7 separate regions of the Homo sapiens genome follow, and regions 2, 3, 4, 5, 6 and 7 are each linked to region 1. The links are contacts of gene promoters, found by promoter capture Hi-C in blood cells and fetal thymus (Javierre and others, 2016). All regions are on one chromosome and are shown on one strand. The core of a region is centred on a gene start or on the middle of the fragment in contact, and the rest is flanking DNA. Distances in the headings are between cores, read along the strand shown. Region 1 holds the start of GDF7 (growth differentiation factor 7). Region 2 has its middle 41 kb from the start of TDRD15. Region 3 overlaps SDC1 (syndecan 1). Region 4 has its middle 14 kb from the start of SDC1. Region 5 overlaps PUM2 (pumilio RNA binding family member 2). Region 6 overlaps PUM2 (pumilio RNA binding family member 2). Region 7 has its middle 56 kb from the start of APOB.

Region 1 (2,920 bases), core at 129-2,628:
GCATTTCCGCCTGAAATTAGGTAAATTTTCTCTATCTGTCTGCTTTAATGATTTCAATGGAGATTAATAAAATCCAGATGACATACAGCAGCCACACCACAGCCTCACCTACATCTTACCTTTGGAAGGCCCAGGGCAGAACAAGGTGGGGTGCTTAGTCTAAGAGAGGCCTGCATTCCTGCAGGGTCCCCAGCAGGCCTCTCCTCCCCACACCACCAGGATCCTTGACCTCTGGCTCTCCCAGGGGCCCAGCACCAGACACAGGCACCCATAGCTGCACATGTCACACACACACAAACCACCACCACCCAGACCAACCTGCTGAGCAGGGCACTCCTCATACCTGGTTATGCCACCAGCCTCTCCAGGGCCATTTACTTTAGTCTGATACCTGCCTCTGCCCTAGTTTTCCCTGGGCTTCCCCCAATTTGTGTGGCCCGCAGGAGACTGGGAGCTGCAGAAATTGCTGCAAGGAAGGAGCCATCACCCTCACCACCGTGCAGTCCCTCTCGCCGTGACTCCCGGGAACACAGCTCTTGCCCTCCTTTCTTCTCTGAGGGCTCCGAGGCCACTCCAGACCATTCCCCAAGAAGCGAATCTTGGCCTCCGCCTGCCTCCTCGAGGGGACCAGCCGGCCTGCAAGGCCAGGGAGACCTGGGAGAGGGACCAGTCAGCCCTCTGGGACTGGGCCCCGGGAGCTGCCGCGACTCTCGCCACAGTCCAGGTGCAGCGGGCTGGAGAGTGTTGGCCTCGGCGAAGTTTCTTTCTATCACCTGAGGGTGGGCCGCATGGGGCCGCGGCTCCAAATGTAACGGAGCTGCGGCACGGCTCCGGGGCTGGTCTCAGCCCAGGACCTGACGGGATGGGCGGGCACAGAAGAGGCGTAAGTACCTTGGGTCGCCTGGTCTGTGAAGCCGGTGATCGTGTCCGCGCGACCATGGCCCGAGGCGGAGACAGCGGCTGCCCCGGCCGGAGCCCTCCCGGCCAGGCTCCGGTAAAGCGACATCATGAAGTGGTGCGGCACCACCGAGCCGTTCCTGAAGCCGGAGCCCGCGGCGCGGCGCGCGGCGCGGGCCCGGGGAACCGCGGCGGCCGGGACAGCCGCGGCGCCCGCAGCCTGGGCAAGAGTCCGCCCGCCGCCGCCGCCGCCGCCGCCGCCCCCTGGGCTCCGGACCGGCCCAGCCCCCGCCGCTCGCAGCACGGCGGCCGCTTCCAGCCCGTCGCGGGGGCGGCAGGCGCTCAGCAGCCAAAGGCACAGCGCGGCGGCGGCGCTCAGGTCCATGGGCTCCGTGGGCCGGGCGGGCGGGCGGCGCGGGCTCCGTGGCTCCGGGAAGTCCCCCGGCGCCTTTTGAACATAGTGTTTAATAATGGGGGAAGTGTGCGCGGCCAGCCCGCGGCCCCCCCTCCTGGCCCACCCCACCCCCGCCCAACGCCCGGAGCAGCGCCCCCTGCTGAAAGCTCCGGCGGCCGCTATGCGCCCCCCACCCCGGCCTAGAGTGGAGACCAGGGCCGGAGCCGCCTCCTCCCACCGCAGCGCTACGCCCCCACCCTCGCCAAGCGACTGCCACTGGCCCCAGCCTCCCGACACGCCTCCCCGCGGCAGTGCGACACCCCCTCCATCCGCCCAAGACCAACGCGCCCTCCGTGGTTCCAGGCTCGGGGCACCGCGCGCACCCGCCCAGCTTCCTCCCCACTCCCCCGCAGAGAAACACCCGCCCCCTCCCTGCCCTGGTTCCCAATGCCGGGAACGGGGCGGCAGAGTTGGGGCCGCGGAAGGGCTCGCCCTCCAGACCGCTTCGCGCCGCGGCCGGGTGGCCGCGCAGAGAGAGGCCACAGGATGCTCCCGGCGGCCTCAAAGTCGCGTTCCGGATCGCGGGTCGGCGGTTCCCCACTCAGCCACAGACCCCAAAGGATTGCAGCGGGCGGCCAGAGCAGGGGAGGGGGCCGGTAGGGGAGGAAGGGAGGGCGAGGAGCTGAAAGGGCAGGCCTGTAAGAGACCTTTGGACGCGGACCGCCCGTCGTAAAAGCAAGGTTTGGGCGCGGAAGTTGCGCTTCAGCGGGAGCCAAGCTCTAGAAAGAGCTCGAAATGAGGACGGCAGCCCCGGGTGATGGGGGATCTCGCGCGGGAGTGCGCTAAGAGTTTGGCTGTGCGTCCAACTGGCGACCTTCCACCCGCCTTCTGGGCGAGGGCAGCGGCTAACGAAAACCAGCTACCGGCTGTGTGCGTGAGCGGCCAGGAGCCGGGAGAGCGGACGGCGCAGAGCCCCGGGATGGCGCCTCCGAGCTTCTTACCCCGCCGCGGTGATGGCGCGGGTCCCGAGGTGGATGGAGGGGACGCCCGGCAGCGGCGAAGCCCTGGGGCGCACTCGCGCGGGCCGCAGAGCAGTTTGCTCCGCGGCTGGGACAGGTTGCGGAGGCCAAGTCTCAGGGGAACGCGCAGGAGAGGGGGGTTATCGGCTCTGCTCCGCCGGCAGCCTGGACATCCCCCTAGATCGGAAACTTTCAGCTGATCGAAGGCCTGGGCCAAACGAACTGCCGAAGAAGGGCAGGCGGGTCCTTTTCCTTTAAAATTGCATTTTCTGCAGAACTCAAAATCTAGACTGGGTCGGCACGTCGTGATCACCTTGAGCGGGTGATCAGCTTCAAAGCGAGGTCGCCCGCCGAATCCAAAGCCGCCTAGGTCCCGACGCCTGCCTGGCTGCGCTGCGCTGGGACCCACAGAGAGGCCCGGCCCAGGCTCCCCAGTTCCCCTGCTCCACTGCTTCGTCCCAAACGAACTCCTCAGCCATTGCCCTCTCGGCCACCGCGGAGACGCGGCGCCTGCTCACCTTGGGGCATTGAGCCGCATAACACTCGAGAATGTTTGCGGGTGGGAGAGAGAGGCCTAGTGAGGTTCAGTCCTCGCAGACCCCAAGGCCGA
Region 2 (2,920 bases), core at 174-2,673, 500 kb before region 1:
TCATATTAGTAAGTACTTAAAAGGTATTTAATACTATTCAGCAGCTCTTCATAACAAAAACTCTAAGTAGAATAAAATTAGAAGGAAACTAGTTAAATATAAACTTTAAAAACATGTATTAAAAACCAAGAGCAAATATCCTATATTCTAAAACTAAATCCACTTCAATTTAAATCAGTAACTAGAGTAGTATTCACAATCAATACTATTAATCATTTTCTTGGAAATTTTAACACATGCTATAAGAAAAAATGAAATAAATCTAAAGAATATATTAAAATATTTCTTTTATTTGTGACACTATTTTATAATTAAGATACCAAAAATTCTATTTTAGTAATGGTGATGTGGGGAAGGTATTCTCATACATTGCTCAAAGATATTTCAGCTGTTTTTGAAAGCAATATGATAACATCTATTAAAATTAAACACATTCTTTCACCCAGCAATCTCACTGATAAAAAGCTATCTCAAAGAGTCAAAGTTACTCTATGTAAGGATATATAGGCATGGATGTGTAATGTAAGTATCCTCAATGTGGCAAAAAAAAAAAAAATTAATGATGAGTAGTCACCAATAGAAAAGTTACTGAAAACAAAATTAAAATACATCCACAATTTTAAATAGTATGCATACATTTAAAAGAACAAATAGAACTACATTACCTATCTTAAAAAGATTTTCAAGAGGTAAGCTAAGAAAAGCAAAATGCAAAGAATTATGTATGATCTTATTTTTCTAGAACAAATAACACAAATTTGTAACTTGTATATATGTATTTATAGACGTATAATCACTCAGTCATTGATTTACATGCACATGGAGAAAATCTCTAGTGTTATAATGACCTACCTCAGGGCAAGGGAGGGATTATATCAATGAGGAAAGGAGGAGGAAAGGAAATCCAAGCAAATAAAGGAAATGAAAAAGTACAGGAAAAAACTGCACTTAGGAATGAATGACATAGTCATATTTATCCATTTATGTCAAATAATATACAAGGTATATGCATAATATCATGAATCCTCAAAAAAATGCTATCCTCACGTTAGACACCTGAACTGGCTTTTTCCTTAAGTTTTAAAACATAAAATAGTCATGGAAAGACAAGTAGAAATAAAGCAAGCTTAAATATATAGGACTGAATGCCACTAGATGTCAGTAAAACCACCCCAAAAAAATATAGAAACATTTTCTTAACTGCTGGGAAAATTTGCTCTTTTATCTGCAATCTTTACCTCTTAGTATATTTGACTTGTACAATATTCAAATTCAAATTAGAAGTACAGATTACCAAAAGAGAAATACAGTTCCTTAAAAGTCAGACTATAAGCCTTATTAATAAAGGGAATATTGGTTAATTAATCCCTTAGTAAATAGGGAACCTATAGTCCCTATTTACTAAGATATCCGTAGTGTTTTCACATTATTTTTAAAAGCTCATGAAATACGCCCTTTGAAGAGATGATAAAATTTTAAATTCAATTAATCAATATATATTTATCTCATGTATTATGTATAAAATATGGAGGCAAACTGAAAGAATCATTACATTTATTGAGTTTTTAACCAAGTAGGAGAGAACAAAATGCAAATTAAGCAGAATGTTATAAATAAACCAGTGCAAAGTAATATACAGTGACACATCCACTATCTAGAAACTCAGATACAGTCACATGACTTAGTATCCCAAAACCAAGTAAATAAACAAGGAAGCTTGCTTCTAGGCAGAAAAAAAAATGCATCACAAACTTTTTCACTGAAACTCTTACTTTACTCACTACCAAGTCTCTTCATTCTTACTGTACCAACAGTATCTACTAATGGCTTGCATACATATGTTTCTAGCAGCAATAATCATAATCATAATCACAAACCAAAACTTAGAAATGACTGAAATGTGATATGTTTACTGAATGGAATATTATTCAGCAATAAAAAGGAATGAACTATTGACAGATGCTATGAGATGGATGAATCTCAAAAAAATTTTGTTTAGTGAAAGGAGTCAGACAGAAGAGACCATATACTGTGTGATTCCACTTACATAAAATATTCAGAAAAGAGCAAGCTTTAAAGACAGATATTAGCATTTTCCTGTAGCAGAGGGTAGAGGCAAGACAGTACATAGGGATTAACAGTAATGTGACACAGGAATGACAATGCAGTGATAAAAATGTATTGAAACTTATTTATAGTGATAGTTACATAACTTGATAAAATTTAAATTAGTAATTAACAATTTTCCCACAAAGAAAAGTCCATGTTCAGATTACTTTACTGGTAAATACGATTAAATTTTGAAGAAAGAAATAATACCAACCCTACAAAAATGTTTTCAGTCATTTCCCAACCCATTGGCATCCTGATACGAAATCCAGACAAAGACATGATTTAAAAACCATAAATCTATATACCGGTATTACTTATAAATACAGATGCAAAATTCCTTAACAAAATATTAGCACCAAATTCAGCAAGATATTAACAAGATTATATAGCACATCTAAGTGGGATTTAACCCAGGAATCTAAAATTGATATGACATTCAGACACTCAAAAATCACACACTTCTCTTTTGTCTTCCTGGAAGGATTTCCTAGGATCACCTGACAGACAATTTAAGGGCGGGGAGGGGAAGGGGAAGCCTGTTCCATAAATTGGTCAAATCAACGTCATCTCCAGCCAATATGAACTACTGCTAAACTATAGCTCAATTCAGAAGCATTCATGAAAAACAATGAGAAGAAACTTTTCCTACGGGCAGAACCCACATCCTTTTTGAATGGAAATAAAAGAAACCTGAGGTAGGTTTCAGACTGCCAGACAGACAGTGGCAACTGGCTAAAGTGGTTGGTCAGGGCTCAGGAGGAACAAGTCTGCAAGATTAGAGACAAGAAAATCTGGAGAAGAGGCATTT
Region 3 (2,920 bases), core at 181-2,680, 450 kb after region 1:
ATGCAGAGGGGAGGTGCGGAGCCAGGGGCGCTTCCCCTTCCGGAAGTGGCGGTGTCTCGCCACTACATCTGGACAGTTCGACTTCCCCAGCTCTGGCAAAGGGAGGCACGTGGGCAGGGAAGGGGCGGGGGCGGGGTGGGCACTCGGGTTCTCCACTGCTAATGTGGCATCTGGACAAGTCTCAGCAGCGCTGACCCTCCGTAAGCGTTGCCTCGTGTAGTAGCTGCCAGTTATTGAGCGCTTTGGTTTTTTTTTTCTTTACAGAGTCTGTCTCATGGGAGATGAGGTAGGGACAGTCGTTTCTGAGACCGATGTGTAAAGCGCCCTCCCTGCTTCCCAGGTGACTCGTGCTTCCAGACATTTTCCGGTCCAGGAGAGGTCCCTGTGCCTATTGAACTGTGAATGGGCTGGACTGTGAGGGGTATCTGGGAGCACGGGGAGGGCCATGATTTCCGAGCTGGGTCTCATGCACTCCTGGCTTTCAGGTCCAAGAAGCTGCTCTCTAGGGTGGTGGTTTCTGTGGAACTGAGACTGTGCTTGGAGTCTTCGCTCCGAGTTTGGAGAAGAGAATGGAGCTGGGTGCCTTACCTCCCTGGACCGCTGGGCATCACCTCACTGCCCCATTCTCGCACATGATGGGGCCTCAGCAGGGGCGGCTGAAGTTGGGTCCTCCACCTATTTCCGGCTGGATTTAGGAGGGCTGCTGGTTCCCTTGCCTGCCTGGGGTAAAGCAGACATTCCAGAGCCCTGGGATCCCACCGCACCCGTTAATGCTGGGGAGGCAGGTGGAGTTTGGGCTTCCCCGTGAACTGCCTTTCCTGGAGTTTTCTGTGGGCTGGGGCAGATGCTGCAGTGTGAGGCATTATTTCTTGCCCAGAAACTTGGACATAGGGCCCAGGAGGCAGGAGAGTCTCAAAAGGGGAAAGGAGGGAGACTCCCTGGAGCTGCAGGGAGGGAAGGCTTCCTGGAGGAGGTGCTTGAGCTGAGCCTGAAAGCCCCACCTGAGCTTTGGGGTCAGACTCTGGCTTGAAGCTTAGGTGTTCTTTTTGCTTTTTCTGATCTTACAAAGATTAGTTTGTTTTCTCTTTCCCAGTTCTGCCCTCTTCCTCTTACAGTGAATGTCCATGTTAGGTTAAAGGTGGGGGCATGCACTGCCTTCCCAAAGCTCTGATACCCCTTTCCTAAAAGAAATCAGGCAGCTGGGATTTGCTTTAAGATGGGAGAAGGTATTTGCAAGTGGCAGAGATCTGACCCTCTCTGAAAGTTCACTCTGGCCCCAGTGGGAAGCAGGTCAGAAACCCCCTGGGGACCAGGGAAGCAAGGAGTGACTGAATGGGTGAGGGGAGGCTGCTAGGAGAGGAGGTTGCTCAAAACCACTCCCAAGAGACTAAAACAGGTTTGTCTAAAAAGGTTTCTCTCTCTCTTTCTCTCTGTGTGTGTGTGTGTGTGTGTGTTTACTGTGGTCTTTTGTTTCTGCCATGTAAGAAAAATGGCTTGTTCTGGAATAGTTATTTGCTATTTTTCATTCTTTCTCTCTTCTCTTTCTTGAAAGGCATAAAATCCCTTTTGCCCTAATTATGGGGGCTAGTAGAGACATTTTCCCACAGCCTGGCAGAGAGGGTATGGGGGGAGGCACTAGCTGCCTCCGCTCAGGCTCAGAGCCTTCTAGAAGTGATGTCATCCCTGGCTTCAGCTCTACAGGGAGGGTGGAGCGGTTTAAGTCTCTACCTGTGGCTCATGATGGGTTCCAGTAAAACCTCATTAACACACATTGGTAGGGAGACAGTAAGAAAGGAGAGAGCCTGGAAAGAATTAATGAAAAGCTTGACTTCTGCAGTTTTTTAGAGGAATCTTTTCTGTTGCAGCAGAATTTTGGATTCCTGAAATCCCTTGGGAATGAGGTGTCCTGTGTATTCATATTTTTTCATCAAGCTAAGAATCCCTATTACCCTCGAGTATTCTTACTCTGGGCATGACTCTCTGAAGTATTTATTTCCCTTCCTTTATCAACCAAAAAATGCTAGGCATGATTTAATCTCTGCCTGCCAGGGTCGTCCTCCTCATCATTGTGCTGGGTTAGGACATTGTCTCCTGGATTTACTGTGCTCTGAAGAGCACTTTGCCCCTCTGCCTGGTGCCCCAGGTTGCTCTGTTTTGAATTCTGGTCTTTCTCCTTTTTCCAGAGAGCAGCCAGAAGTGACATTTATGTGCCTGAGTGTAGCCAGCAGCTTTTCTGATCAGTTCTAATTTGTTACTTTTCTCCAGTGGCACTAAGAAACTAATCAGATGAGTTAGGCTTATTTCCAAGCTGAGAGTTTTAGGCTCTGGGTAAGGGCCTTGCCTGTGAGTGAGACTGATGATCTGTGATATGTGGATTTTGTACCCTTCATGAACTTCAGCTGGGACCTGTTGCAGTCTCCCCTCTACCTCCCTGCACCCCACCTAGAGTAACAAAGAGGTGCTGCCAAGGTGAGGCCTTTAGGGGCCTCTCTCAGTGGAGAAAAATGAGTCATCTCTTGGGGGAAGTGCTTGCTGACCCCCATGTTCCAAGTTCCTCGACCTGGTTTGACTTGTAAGTGACTTGCTGGTCACAGGTAGCTGGACTGACCAGCTGAGGGCCATTATTCTTTAGCCTTGACTGTTACTCTCAGCTTCGGTCATGCCCCCAACTCTTCACCACATGTTTGATTTGGATTTTAGTTCCTGTTTCTATATAATGTGCATCCATACTGTGTGACAGGCCAGAAATGGCTTTGGATTAAGTAGAGCCCCAGGACTGAGTCTCAACTCTGCCACTAATTTACTCCATAATCTGGGGTGAGTCACTTTCCTTCCAAGTCTTGTTGTCCTCATCTGTAAAGCGGACATCATGATACCTGTTCTCCCTGTCCTCATTCTGTCATTTGCGTATTCATTTCAT
Region 4 (2,920 bases), core at 271-2,770, 430 kb after region 1:
GTTATGTTAAATAAGATTGACCAAATGTTATCTTATGTTAAATAAGATTGACCAAATCTCCATTGAGGAATTGGATAGCACTATAAGGTGCCTCACGGTGTACCCATCTCTGCCCATCACCACTGGAATTTTGATGACCTATTGGAAAAGATCTGGGACTATCTGAAACTAGTGAGAATTTGCACCAAACCCAAAGGCAATTACCAGGTTACACATCCTCAGTGGTACTTCCTTACTCCAGGACCACAGTGGAGATTTCTGCATGAAGATTCACAAAAATCTTATCAAAGAATTTAAATATGCTCTGGTCTGGGGTCTCTCTGTGAAACACAATCCTCAAAAAGTGGGTAAAGACCATACGTTGGAGGACAAGGATGTCATTCAAATTGTGAAGAAGTGCAACCTTTTCCTTTTCCCATCTACCGGGCGAACCACAGCAGCCTTCCCCATGATCAAGCACCCTACCCCAGTTCCTTCTGGTTTTGGCAGTCACTGGATCAGGATCCAGGGGAGGGAGATGGAGGCACCAAAACTGGCACTTCGTTAGTCTTACCTTGCTGTCACCTTGTATGTCGAACTGCATAAAAGACCTGGTAGGCTGGTCATCTATGTGCAAAAAAAAAAAGAAAAAGAAAACCATTATACTTGAGCGAATTCTTATAGTATAAAAACTTCCCAACAATCAAAAGCAAACAAAATAAAAACAAACAAAAAGCTTCTCCTCATTGTCTCTGCCTTTCAATTTCATTCCCCTCCCAAGAGTTAATCGTTGTTAACTGTTGAGTATGCAAATTCCAAATATTTTTCTTTGTATTTATTAGGCCATAATGAAGAGCCTAATAAACCCAAGAAGCTGAAATCATACAGGACACATTCACTGAATAGAATGCAATTTAATTAGAAAGGGAGGGCAAAACGATCTTAGAAACAGAAATATATTTATTAATAAAGCATGTATCTTCAAAATATAAATATATTTGTTACTAGAAATATATCTTAGAAAAAAATTTATTTGAGACAAGGTCTCGCTATGTTTCCAGGCTGTCCTTGAATTCCTGGCCTCAAACAATCCTCCCACCTAGGCCTCCCAGAGTATTGGGATTACAGGCATGAGCCACCATGCCTACTCTAGAAATTTTTTAAAATACTCTTCTTAGTAACTCCTCATTTAAAGAGCTAATCTAATCTAGAACAAACTATTATGGGTTAATTTCCAAATTAATAGCAATGACAGACATATATAAAAACCTGGGGATTCAGGCCAAACGTTATTTAAAGAAAATGTTTAGTCAAGAAAATCTGAAGATAAATGAACTCAAGAAGCTAGTAAAATAAGACCAAAAAAAATTACAAAGAAAGCGGAAGGACGGAATTAATAACAAACTCACACACACACTCACAAAAACTTGACCAGTTAAAAATAATGAATTAGACATGCTTTTGGAAAATTTGAATTTAGCAAAAAAGATGAAAGACACAAACAGTAAGAAGATATAAAATTGTGATTTTTAATTATAAGAGAATTTATATTAAAAGTCTACTTACAAACTAAAAATTAAATGAAATAAATAATTTTCTTTCCTTTTTTTTTTGAGACAGAGTCTCACTCTGTCACCCAAGCTGGAGTGCAGTAGTATGATCACCATCACAGTTCACTGCAAACTCAGCCTCCCAGGCTCAAGTTATCCTCCCACCTCAGCCTCCCAAGTAGCTAGGACCACAGGTGTGCTCCACCACACCCAGCTAATTTTTAGTATTTTTTTATAGAGATGAGTTTTCGCCACATTGCCCAGGGTGGTCTCAAACCTCTGAGCTCAAGCGATCCTCCTGCCTCAGCCTTTCAAAGTGCTGGGATTTACAGGTGTAAGCCTCTGCACCCAGCCCAAAATAAATAATTTTCTAGGGAAATATATAGTTCCAAAATTGATTCAAGAGGAGTGGGAAACTTGACTATATCAATACCATTAAAGAAATTAAGGAAGTAGGAAACAAACAAACAAAACCAGAGGTATCACGTTTCCTGATTTCAAAACTTATTAGAAAGCTACAGTAATCCAAACAGTGTGGCACTGGCATAAAGACAGACATACAGACCGAAGGAAGAGAATAGACAGACCAGGGAGAAACCCTCGCATATATGGTCAAGTGATCTTCCACAAGGGTGCCAAGACCGTCCAATGAGGAAACAACAGTCGTTGCAACAAGTGATGCAAAAGTTGGTCCCTTACCTTACATCATATACAAAACTAACTAAAAATGGATGAAGATCTAAACGTAAGACCGAAAACTGTGAAACCCTATAAGAAAATGTAGGGGGAAAGCTTCGTGATGTTGGATTTGGCAGTGATTTGGCTATGACAGCAAAAACACATGCAAAAGCAAAACTAAATAAATGAGACTACATCAAACTTTAAAATGTCTGTGCACCAAAGGAAACAATCAACAAAGTGGAAAGGCAATCTACAGACTGGGAGAAAATATTTGCAAATATGTAAATAATAAAGGGTTAATATTCAGAATACATAGACACCTACAACTCAACAACAACAAAAAACAACGTGATTTTAAAATGGACAAAGGACTTAAATAGACATTTCTCCAAAGATGATATATAAATGGCCAAGAAGAATGTGAAAAGATGCTCAATGTCATCAGTCATCATCACGGAAATGCAAGTCAAAACTGCAATGAGATATCATTTCACACCCATTGAGACAGCTACTAAAAGAAAAAAAAAAGAACAAGGAAATAACAAGTGTTGGTGAAGCCTCTGTGGAAAAAACAGTATGGTGCGTCTTTGAAAAATTAAAAATAGAATTACCTTGTGATTCAGCAATCCCACTTCTTGAAATACCTCCAAAGGAATTGAAAGCAGGCTCATATTAAAACAGTCAATAGCTAGTGGTGTGTGTTTATATAC
Region 5 (2,920 bases), core at 289-2,788, 410 kb after region 1:
GGTTTATGTCATCATGAACACCTGAGTAACGTATTGCACTATGATGTTATGACAGTTCCTACCCAATAGGAATTTATCTCCATTATAATCTTATGGGACCACCATTGTATATGTGGCTTGTTGTCAATTGAAATGTGGTTAAGCAGTGCATGACTGTAGTTGGTAGTTCCTTCAGAGTAACAAATGAGCCTTGTGTCACCCAGAATGGCTTTCTTGCTTAGGAATTCATTCATGTTGGATGAATTTTACTTCTAAGGGTTTCCTTTATTATGTTCTAAAAGTTAGATGTTTAGTAATACATTGTATATTATGAAAAATAAATGAATAAGCAGCAAAATTTACGTAATTTTCTTATTGATTATAATGTAACCAACCTAAGAAAGATTAAACATCTTTATATCCAGGTTTTTTGTCACTCTATCTTTAGATAAGGTGTTATAAAGAAATGCTATATAACTTTTGTCCTTTTTGCTGTAAGTTAGCTGTCTACTATATAAAGTATGGTAATATTTATGGAAATAACTTGCAGTGCATATATGTGGAAGGGTAGGGTGTAATACTCAAGTGTATTAAAAAACATATTGTCATATTAAAAATGTTCCCTATGTAGATTCATACAGCAAAAACTAGAGAGAGCTACTCCAGCTGAGCGACAGATGGTATTTAATGAAATTCTGCAAGCAGCCTATCAATTAATGACTGATGTTTTTGGCAACTATGTTATACAGAAGTTTTTTGAGGTAAGGATTCATGCATATTTGTATATCCGCCCATCCAGCTGTTGTATACTTGATGCTAAGAAAAGCTCTGAAAGTTGGGTAAAGTCATTTTCATATAAAAAAAGATAATAAGCCAGGGATAAGATATTTACAAATTATATATGCGGTAAACATTTTATCCAGGATATATTGTAATGAACTCCTAAAAAGTCAACAACAAAAAGACAACCCAAATGACAAATGGACAAAGGACTTGCACAGACATTTCTCTATGTAAAATAATACAAAAGGCCACATAGGCCATGAAAAGATGCTCAACATCCTTACTAATCAGGGAAATGCAGATCAATCTCACAATGAGATACCATTTTATACCTACTAAGATGACTGTAATCGGAAAACATAAAATCGGAAAATAACAAATGTGGATGAGGATATGGAGAAATTAGAGCCCTCATAAATTGCTGGTGGAAATGTAAAATGGTGTAGCTGCTATGGAAAACAGTTTGGCAGTTTCTCAAAATTAAATATTGAATCACCACACAATCCAGCAATTGTACTCCTAGGGGTACAATTGAAAGCAAATGAATTGAAAGCAGGAACCTGAACACCAGTATATATTGCACCATTATTCACGATAGCCAAAAGGCGGAAACAGCCCAAGTGTCCGTCAACAGATGAGTAGATAAATACAAGTGGTATATGTATACATTATAGAATATTATTCAGCCATAAAAAGGAATGACGTTCTGATACATACTACAACATGGATGGACCTTGAAAATACTAACTTAAGTGAAACAAGCCACACACAAAAGGACAAACATTGATAGTGATCTACCAGTATGAAATGTCTAGAATAACTAATAGTGGCATAAAGTAGATTAGGGGTTACTGGGCCTAGAGGAAGAAGGGTTTAGAAAGTTACCATTTAATGGATACAGCATTTGTGTTTGAGGCCACGGAAAAGATTTGGAAACAAATAGTGATAGTGATGGTGGTTGCACAACAGTGTGAATATAATTAATGCTACTCAATCACCTAGCTAAAAATGGTTCAAATGGCAGTTTGTCACAAAAAAAATTTTAACATGAACCACTTTAAATGAAAATTTGCTATTAATCCTGATTCATATTTGAAAATATAAAGCATTGGTAGTCAATCTTTGGTAAAGTAGTTAATGAATAACACTATAGTCTTTGGATTTATAGATGTGTGTTATTTTACAGTTTAGCCAATTTTTAAATTTATAAGCATCTGTGTTGTAGCTTAATGACTTTAACAGTTTTTTCCTCAATCATATCAGAATGTAGTTTGATGATTATCTGGGTGAAGAGTTTTGGTGGTCAACGTATGGCTAAGAAAGTTATATATTAAAGATGAAGGGTTTTGGCCGGGCGCGGTGGCTCACGCCTGTAATCCCAGCACTTTGGGAGGCCGAGGCGGGTGGATCATGAGGTCAGGAGATCGAGACCATCCTGGCTAACAAGGTGAAACCCCGTCTCTACTAAAAATACAAAAAATTAGCCGGGCGCGGTGGCGGGCGCCTGTAGTCCCAGCTACTCGGGAGGCTGAGGCAGGAGAATGGCGTGAACCCGGGAAGCAGAGCTTGCAGTGAGCCGAGATTGTGCCACTGCAGTCCGCAGTCCAGCCTGGGCGACAGAGCGAGACTCCGTCTCAACAAAAAAAAAAAAAAAAAAAAAAAAAGATGAAGGGTTTTGTAAAGATGTTCACTTTAAAAGAGTGTTTCTTTAAAAGGTAGTTAACATATTAGTAACAAGGAAATTTTAGTAAGACTTAACCCAAAGAAGTAATAAAAAATTATTATTGGAAACATTTCCCAGTCTATCTTAATTAGCTTCTACCTTAAAGCCCCTGCCCTACATAGTTACTGATAGAATGAATAGACTGCAAACACTGCCTTACTCAAGTTCAACAAAGCAATATTAAGGTCACTTGTTATTAATGTTATATCTTTTCTGTCAGTTTGGGAGTCTGGATCAAAAATTAGCCCTGGCTACTCGTATTCGTGGTCATGTTCTACCCTTAGCCTTGCAGATGTATGGCTGCCGCGTTATTCAGAAAGCATTAGAATCTATTTCTTCTGACCAGCAGGTAATTGTAAGTTAAGACAAAATTTTTGTATTATTTTATTCAATTTTTAAATTATTACATGTTTTTAATCTTACAGTAATCTTGAA
Region 6 (2,920 bases), core at 262-2,761, 380 kb after region 1:
TCTGAAGTATCCACAGTGTATATAGCTAACTTCTCTCCTGTGATTCCAGAGTGATGCTTGTTATATACCATCCTTAGGAGAATTAACAAAATACTTACTTAAATCATTTTCTGTGTTTTTGGTTCAACAGAGAATCTCCATTGAGAAAGGCTGCTAAGAAGTTAACTTTATTCTCCACTATTTGTGAAGATTACCTACCTTGTGCTTAAGGCTACAATAAAACTAAAGCCTGTGTGATTTTTAATTAAACTCTAGCTTGAGAATCTTCACAAATAGAATGTTTGGCTTAAGTTTTTAAAGAGATGATTACAAATGAAAATCTAACGGAATGCTGGTAATGAGGCACTTGATTTTGAACTTCAATGAAATTGCACAGTAAACATTTCGTACAGTGTTCTACCTCGCTACTCCCAGTTTTTTTAATCCTTCTTCTTCGAAGGGCTAAATGGTGATTTTTTTTTTCTAATATCAGCCCTTCCTTCATAGCCTGTAGTTTCTATATTAAGGAAAATACCTCTTCATTTTGTGGCCCCTGAGTAAAATTTAGAGAAAAAATGTTTAATGACAGTCTATTACTTTTTCATATATTTAGTAAGACCTTGTCAAATGTGTTGCTTTGCATATATTAACTAAGGATTTTATAGTAATGGTACAAATAGCTGTGTTGTCTAGTTGAAAAAATACAAATGCAGGGAAAAACAAATATGCATGTTTTTGTAATAAGTGCTTTCATTAGTAAACCTTTATTTTATTTAGGCTATCAAGTACTAGCTCCAACTGCCTATTATGATCAGACTGGTGCCTTAGTGGTTGGCCCTGGAGCAAGGACTGGCCTTGGAGCTCCAGTTCGGTTAATGGCTCCAACACCTGTTTTAATTAGTTCAGCAGCAGCACAAGCTGGTAAGTGTAACTGACATTTTTAGGATAATATTTTTCTGGTGTTGAGATACCATTTTTAAAATACAGAATTTTCTGGGTGGTTTAAAGAAGTATCTGAAATTTATTTTACAGCAGCAGCAGCAGCAGCTGGAGGAACTGCAAGTAGCCTTACAGGCAGCACAAATGGTCTGTTTCGGCCAATTGGCACTCAGCCACCACAGCAGCAGCAACAGCAGCCAAGCACTAATCTGCAATCTAATTCATTTTATGGAAGCAGTTCTTTGACTAATAGCTCCCAGAGTAGTTCTTTATTTTCTCATGGACCTGGTCAACCTGGAAGTACATCTCTTGGCTTTGGAAGTGGTAACTCTTTGGGTGCTGCTATAGGCTCAGCCCTCAGTGGATTTGGTTCATCAGGTAAGTTTGTTTTTACGATGAGTGTACTCTGCTAAGTGGAAGAGGTATATGAGTGTGTTTAACATTAAAATAAGCAATAATAGCATGTAGGATAGGAAGGACAGGAATAAAGTATTGGACTACTGGTTTAATTTGTAGGAAAAAAAAATCCTGCAAATCTTTTCAACACTCACCAATGTTTAACTCACTATAGGCAGCCTGTTCTTTACTCATATATAATACATTTCCTTTTTCCCTGGCTCTAGGAATTGATTACTGTAATTTTTGTTTTAGTAGGGTTTATTTGGGTCAATATATTATTCACTAATTATTAGCTCATCTTCATTCACTACATAATGTTTGTGGAGGCAAATATTTTGCCGTCTTAAATTTTTGGTATTTTAAAGCAGTTATCTTTGTGTCCTTATTAGATGGTTTATTCTTATTAAATGCTGGTAGTTTATTACAGTTTTTAAATTTGGCCTAATATAAAAAATACATATGTGTATGTATAAATACTGAAATGTTCTACACAGAATCCCCTAAGAAGCTACCAGTATGGTTATCTTTTAGATTAAATAAGTTAGCCTTTGTCACTAAAAATTCACTTAAAAGGGTATCTATTCATGTATCTTAGCTTTATATAACACTTAACAAATCAAAATTTTAAATAGCTTCACTAAATAATTGACCCACTCAAACTGGTTCCTGGATCCTGTGGTAGAGGAAGAACTAAGTGAAATCAGAAGAGGCCCACGTTGACTTCTTGTTGATACACTTGGTGTTTTCTGTGAGGTTTCCACAGTACTCAGGAAACATTAGGGAAAAAACAGCTGACCCAGTTCTATCGGTGCAGCTGGCAGCTTTTACTTCATGAGGATAGGACTATTTGGACCTCAAGAGATTTTCTGTTTCTATAACATAACTTGCTACAGTCCTTAATATCTGTTTCTGATCTCTTTTCTTACCACATCAAATTATATTCTTTTCTGGTGTGGAAAATGGCAGAACTAACACATGCCAGGCATTATTAACAATGCTTGCCAGTTTTCTAAGGGAGTGTCTTCTGAACTTTTATCATTCATATATACAGGAAGGATGGTCTAGAACAGCCACAAACTTTTAGATGGCAGAATCTTTTTTCATTTATTGTAATGAAATACAATAAGTGGATGTCATATTGGACTGACACAAAATTATCTGAAGACTGCTCATAAGAATTTCTGAGGGAAAATCCAGTGAACATGGGGATTGTTAAATCTTTTCAATTTTGTACTTGAGTTTTTTCATTGCTTTTGGAGTTGTGTATCTCTTTGTCCACCTCACGCACTCCCATAGGACTCATTCCTTGTTTCTAACACAATTGGGACATTTTCTCCAAAGAATCCTAAATATTCTGAGGAAAACTGGAAGAACAAGTAACATAAAAAACAAACTTGTGGAAATAGTTTTTAAATTATAAATTGTAGGCCCTAAATAATTCAGAAAAAAGAGAGCATTGATTAAACCCCATGTTTCCTTTCTCACGTAGTATGTCACTGATCGTCTGGTTCAGATTTCTAGGCCCCTACTCAATTCTTTCAAATTTCCATTTGTTTCTTAGTTAAGGCTGTTTTCCCCCTTTCAGGAATTGATTGACATGAAC
Region 7 (2,920 bases), core at 309-2,808, 320 kb before region 1:
GGGCTCTGTGGCCAGCCCCAGCTGGCAGGATCCCTGCCCCCTGAGCAGCTGCCAGCCCTTCTGACATCTGGGGAAAAGGGCTCAGCAGATGTGCCTCCAGGGCTTTGGCAGAAGCCAGACCCCTTCCCTTTCTTTTCTCAGTGGGATGCCACCCCTTCACTCACTTCCTTGCCCCAAAAAGGCTCCCAGAGGCCCCCTCCTCTGGGACCCCCAATCTCCCAACCTGCAGACCTCCCCCTTCTCTAAGCCAACTGCCCTCTTTCCTCCTATTAGTTTGTCCCGTGCCCTCCCTTGGCTGGGCCTGGGTTTCACGGGTCTCATCCCTTCCATAGCCCATGACTGGGGTCCCAAGCTCCTGGCAGGGGCTCAACATAACCCTGTTGATCAACTTCAGGGCAGAATTGGTCCCAACCACACATCTTCATGGATGCCAGGAGCCAGTGCTTCAAGGGAAGGCTGTGCTCCCTTCCCATCCCTTTCTCCGTGAGAACTCAGCAAGTGAGTGAGGAAAGGCAGGGTGAGGCGGGGCCAGTCCCCAGGAGGGGCCATGCTGTGATTGATGATGCCCTGGCGTTCTCCAGAGGCTCACCAGGCAACTGAGTGTGGCTGCTGGCTGAGGAATGCAGAGTGAGTGGCCCAGGCCCTCCTCGAAGCTCCAGGGCTGTTCTCTTTGCCTGGAGAAAATGTCCTTGCTCACAGTTTCCCAGCATTCAGCCCAAATCTCACCAAGGGAAAGAGGCTGTGTCCTTCTGTCCCAGCCTCCAACTGAGAACACGAAAAGAACAGACTCCAGGCCCAACTGCCTGAGTTCTAATTCCAGCTCTCTTGTGCACTTAGGGGTAACCTTGGACAGGTTAGGGAGCTGTTCTGTGCCTCCACTTCTGCATATATAAAACGGGAATAATCATTGCACTACCTCAGAGGGTTCTGGTGAAGACTTAGAAGTTCATTGTGTAAACTTCTCAGACTAGTGTCATGCAATGTAAATGCTGCCCAAGTGCTTTTATCTGATCATCCCTGAGTACCCATCAAACACCTCTACCTCTCTCACCATCTCCTAAAGTCGCAATAGGTTTCTGTCATGTTTGGTACCTGATGCTGGGAAGCTTATGTCTCTGTTGAGTTTCTGCCTCTGCCATACATACTTAAGGGCAGCATGTATGCAGGCCTCAAAATGTGGGGAGGAGGTTTCTCAGGGGACCAGGCCGGCATAGCCTGCTAACCTGGACAAGCCATGCCGCTGTTCCATCCACCAGGGAAGAGGTCCAGTGATGCCCTCTTTTCTCCTCTCCCACCCTGAAGTCACTCAAAGCCCAAATCCCTGGAGGGTGTCTGCCACAGCACACGTGTGATGAACAGGAGCAAGTTATCAGTCTTCAACAACAACCTACACATCTATTGAAAGTAATGAAATGCACATCATCCGGCACTGATGTCTCTCCAAGTCCCAAAGTCGGCTGTGCAGCCCAGGGCTCAGCAACGTGGGGAGGCCATTCCCAGCTGGAGGTTGCTCATGCCTCAGTGGGCCCGCAGGTCGCAGCCCCAGGGAGGCCTGAGGTCAGGCCCCCATCACACCTCCACAGACCACATCAGTCTCATCTGTGCAAATAAACAATAGGACCGAGTGATCTCTAAAGGCCTTCAGATTCTGGCAGACTTCAGAGGGGAGCCCCTATAGTATCATCATTACCATCACCGTCATCATCAGGAGTAATTTAACAGAGCTCAGCTCCAGATCACTTCTTGCAAGGCCATGTTAATAGTGCTGCAACAAATGCATAGTAACATCCTGTGTCTTTATTTTACAGACGGGGAAACTGAGACTCAAAAAGGTTAAGTAGCTTCACTTTTAAAACTTATGAACAGCCGAGTAGGCATAAACTCCAGATCTGTGTGATCTCCAAAATCATACCTGGAAACATTCACTGTGCCATTTTATAATAAAACTGATGACACCAATAATAGTAACAACTTCCACGTGCCAGGCACACCATATGGGTGTAAGCTTATTTCACCCTTACACCAACCTTATACAAAGGTAGGTATGATCATCCCAATTTTTCAGGGGGATTAAATAACTTGTCTAGAGCCAACAGAGTACTCTAACTTGTCAAATTCAATTGTGTCATTCCTTTTGTTGAAAATCAAACATTAACCGGCACACATCTTCCTAATCACTTACCCAGGTTTATTTCTGAGGACAGAAGGACTGATATTCTTCCAATTAGCACAAGGAAGGCCATGCCAGCCGTTAAAGTATTGAAGTACTTTTGGACCAATTCGTATATAGGGGCTGCCCCCCAAGCTCCCCAAACTCTCACACATACCCCAGTCATTCCGGCTTCTCCCGCAGGACCCTCTGGCCTCCCAGGACTCCAGCCAATGCTGAGTTACTGACAGTGTTTATTCTGATTGGTCAGTGACTGTGGTAGGCTGGGTACTAAACATCCTGAGTAGGGCCCTTGGTAATGGTAACCGAAGCATATAGACACAGGCATATAGGTGTACACATTACATTGACTCCTGGCCCAACACATGCACACGGAGGACACAGAAATGCAGAAACACCTACATACAGACACAGGCTTGTGCACACACACACAAACACATGCACGTGCAGATACACATATCTGCATAAATGTATGCATGCATGCACACATACATGAACAGATGCACCCCCCCATGTCCACATGCACACATACATGAACACATGCATACCCCCAGTGTCCTCCAAATTTCAACAGTTTGGTCCTAAGACAGGAAGAGCCACCCCACAGACCTGCTCAGGAGACAGAGGGTTCCAAAGAGCTCAGCACACAAAAAGCACTGCACTAGAAGTCTAGCAACAAGACTCTAGCTTGTTACATGACCTTGCGCAAGTCAGAGCTATGGCACTGCAGGCGCAAAAAGATTTACAGCA

The links. Contacts are between HindIII fragments. The CHiCAGO score rates a contact against its expected background, and 5 or more counts as called.
Region 2: a contact is called between a fragment that was not itself captured here and the fragment with the promoter of GDF7 in region 1, in 2 of 17 cell types (megakaryocytes and endothelial precursors). The highest score is 7.6, in megakaryocytes.
Region 3: a contact is called between a fragment that was not itself captured here and the fragment with the promoter of GDF7 in region 1, in 1 of 17 cell types (neutrophils). The highest score is 5.8, in neutrophils.
Region 4: a contact is called between a fragment that was not itself captured here and the fragment with the promoter of GDF7 in region 1, in 3 of 17 cell types (neutrophils, monocytes and naive B cells). The highest score is 9.5, in neutrophils.
Region 5: a contact is called between a fragment that was not itself captured here and the fragment with the promoter of GDF7 in region 1, in 1 of 17 cell types (neutrophils). The highest score is 7.2, in neutrophils.
Region 6: a contact is called between a fragment that was not itself captured here and the fragment with the promoter of GDF7 in region 1, in 2 of 17 cell types (neutrophils and monocytes). The highest score is 11.1, in neutrophils.
Region 7: a contact is called between a fragment that was not itself captured here and the fragment with the promoter of GDF7 in region 1, in 14 of 17 cell types (megakaryocytes, naive B cells, erythroblasts and 11 more). The highest score is 9.5, in megakaryocytes.

The regions. Positions count from the first base shown.
Region 1 is chr2:20,665,602-20,668,521 of GRCh38, reverse strand. GDF7 (growth differentiation factor 7) reads right to left here and starts at 1,378. Exons shown (of 2, transcript NM_182828.4): 1 at 892-1,378. The coding sequence starts at 1,282. RefSeq lists enhancers at 699-818, 1,805-2,635 and silencers at 1,299-1,448, 1,489-1,538, 1,609-1,718. The HindIII fragment of the contact is 16,143 bases long and covers 1-2,920 here.
Region 2 is chr2:21,163,805-21,166,724 of GRCh38, reverse strand. No RefSeq gene overlaps it. Among named protein-coding and RNA genes, the nearest start is that of TDRD15, 41 kb to the right of the region's middle. The HindIII fragment of the contact is 590 bases long and covers 1,129-1,718 here.
Region 3 is chr2:20,220,623-20,223,542 of GRCh38, reverse strand. All of the region lies in intron 1 of SDC1 (syndecan 1), which reads left to right. Among named protein-coding and RNA genes, the nearest start is that of SDC1, 3.0 kb to the left of the region's middle. RefSeq lists a silencer at 1-46 and enhancers at 205-711, 712-1,219. The HindIII fragment of the contact is 791 bases long and covers 1,035-1,825 here.
Region 4 is chr2:20,237,369-20,240,288 of GRCh38, reverse strand. It overlaps the pseudogene DRG1P1. Among named protein-coding and RNA genes, the nearest start is that of SDC1, 14 kb to the right of the region's middle. The HindIII fragment of the contact is 1,606 bases long and covers 718-2,323 here.
Region 5 is chr2:20,258,157-20,261,076 of GRCh38, reverse strand. It overlaps PUM2 (pumilio RNA binding family member 2), which reads left to right. Exons shown (of 21, transcript NM_015317.5): 15 at 611-740; 16 at 2,706-2,834. Among named protein-coding and RNA genes, the nearest start is that of SDC1, 34 kb to the right of the region's middle. The HindIII fragment of the contact is 4,669 bases long and covers 1-2,920 here.
Region 6 is chr2:20,281,323-20,284,242 of GRCh38, reverse strand. It overlaps PUM2 (pumilio RNA binding family member 2), which reads left to right. Exons shown (of 21, transcript NM_015317.5): 11 at 757-900; 12 at 1,012-1,296. Among named protein-coding and RNA genes, the nearest start is that of SDC1, 58 kb to the right of the region's middle. The HindIII fragment of the contact is 9,280 bases long and covers 1-2,920 here.
Region 7 is chr2:20,986,750-20,989,669 of GRCh38, reverse strand. No RefSeq gene overlaps it. Among named protein-coding and RNA genes, the nearest start is that of APOB, 56 kb to the left of the region's middle. RefSeq lists enhancers at 1-295, 296-797. The HindIII fragment of the contact is 899 bases long and covers 1,109-2,007 here.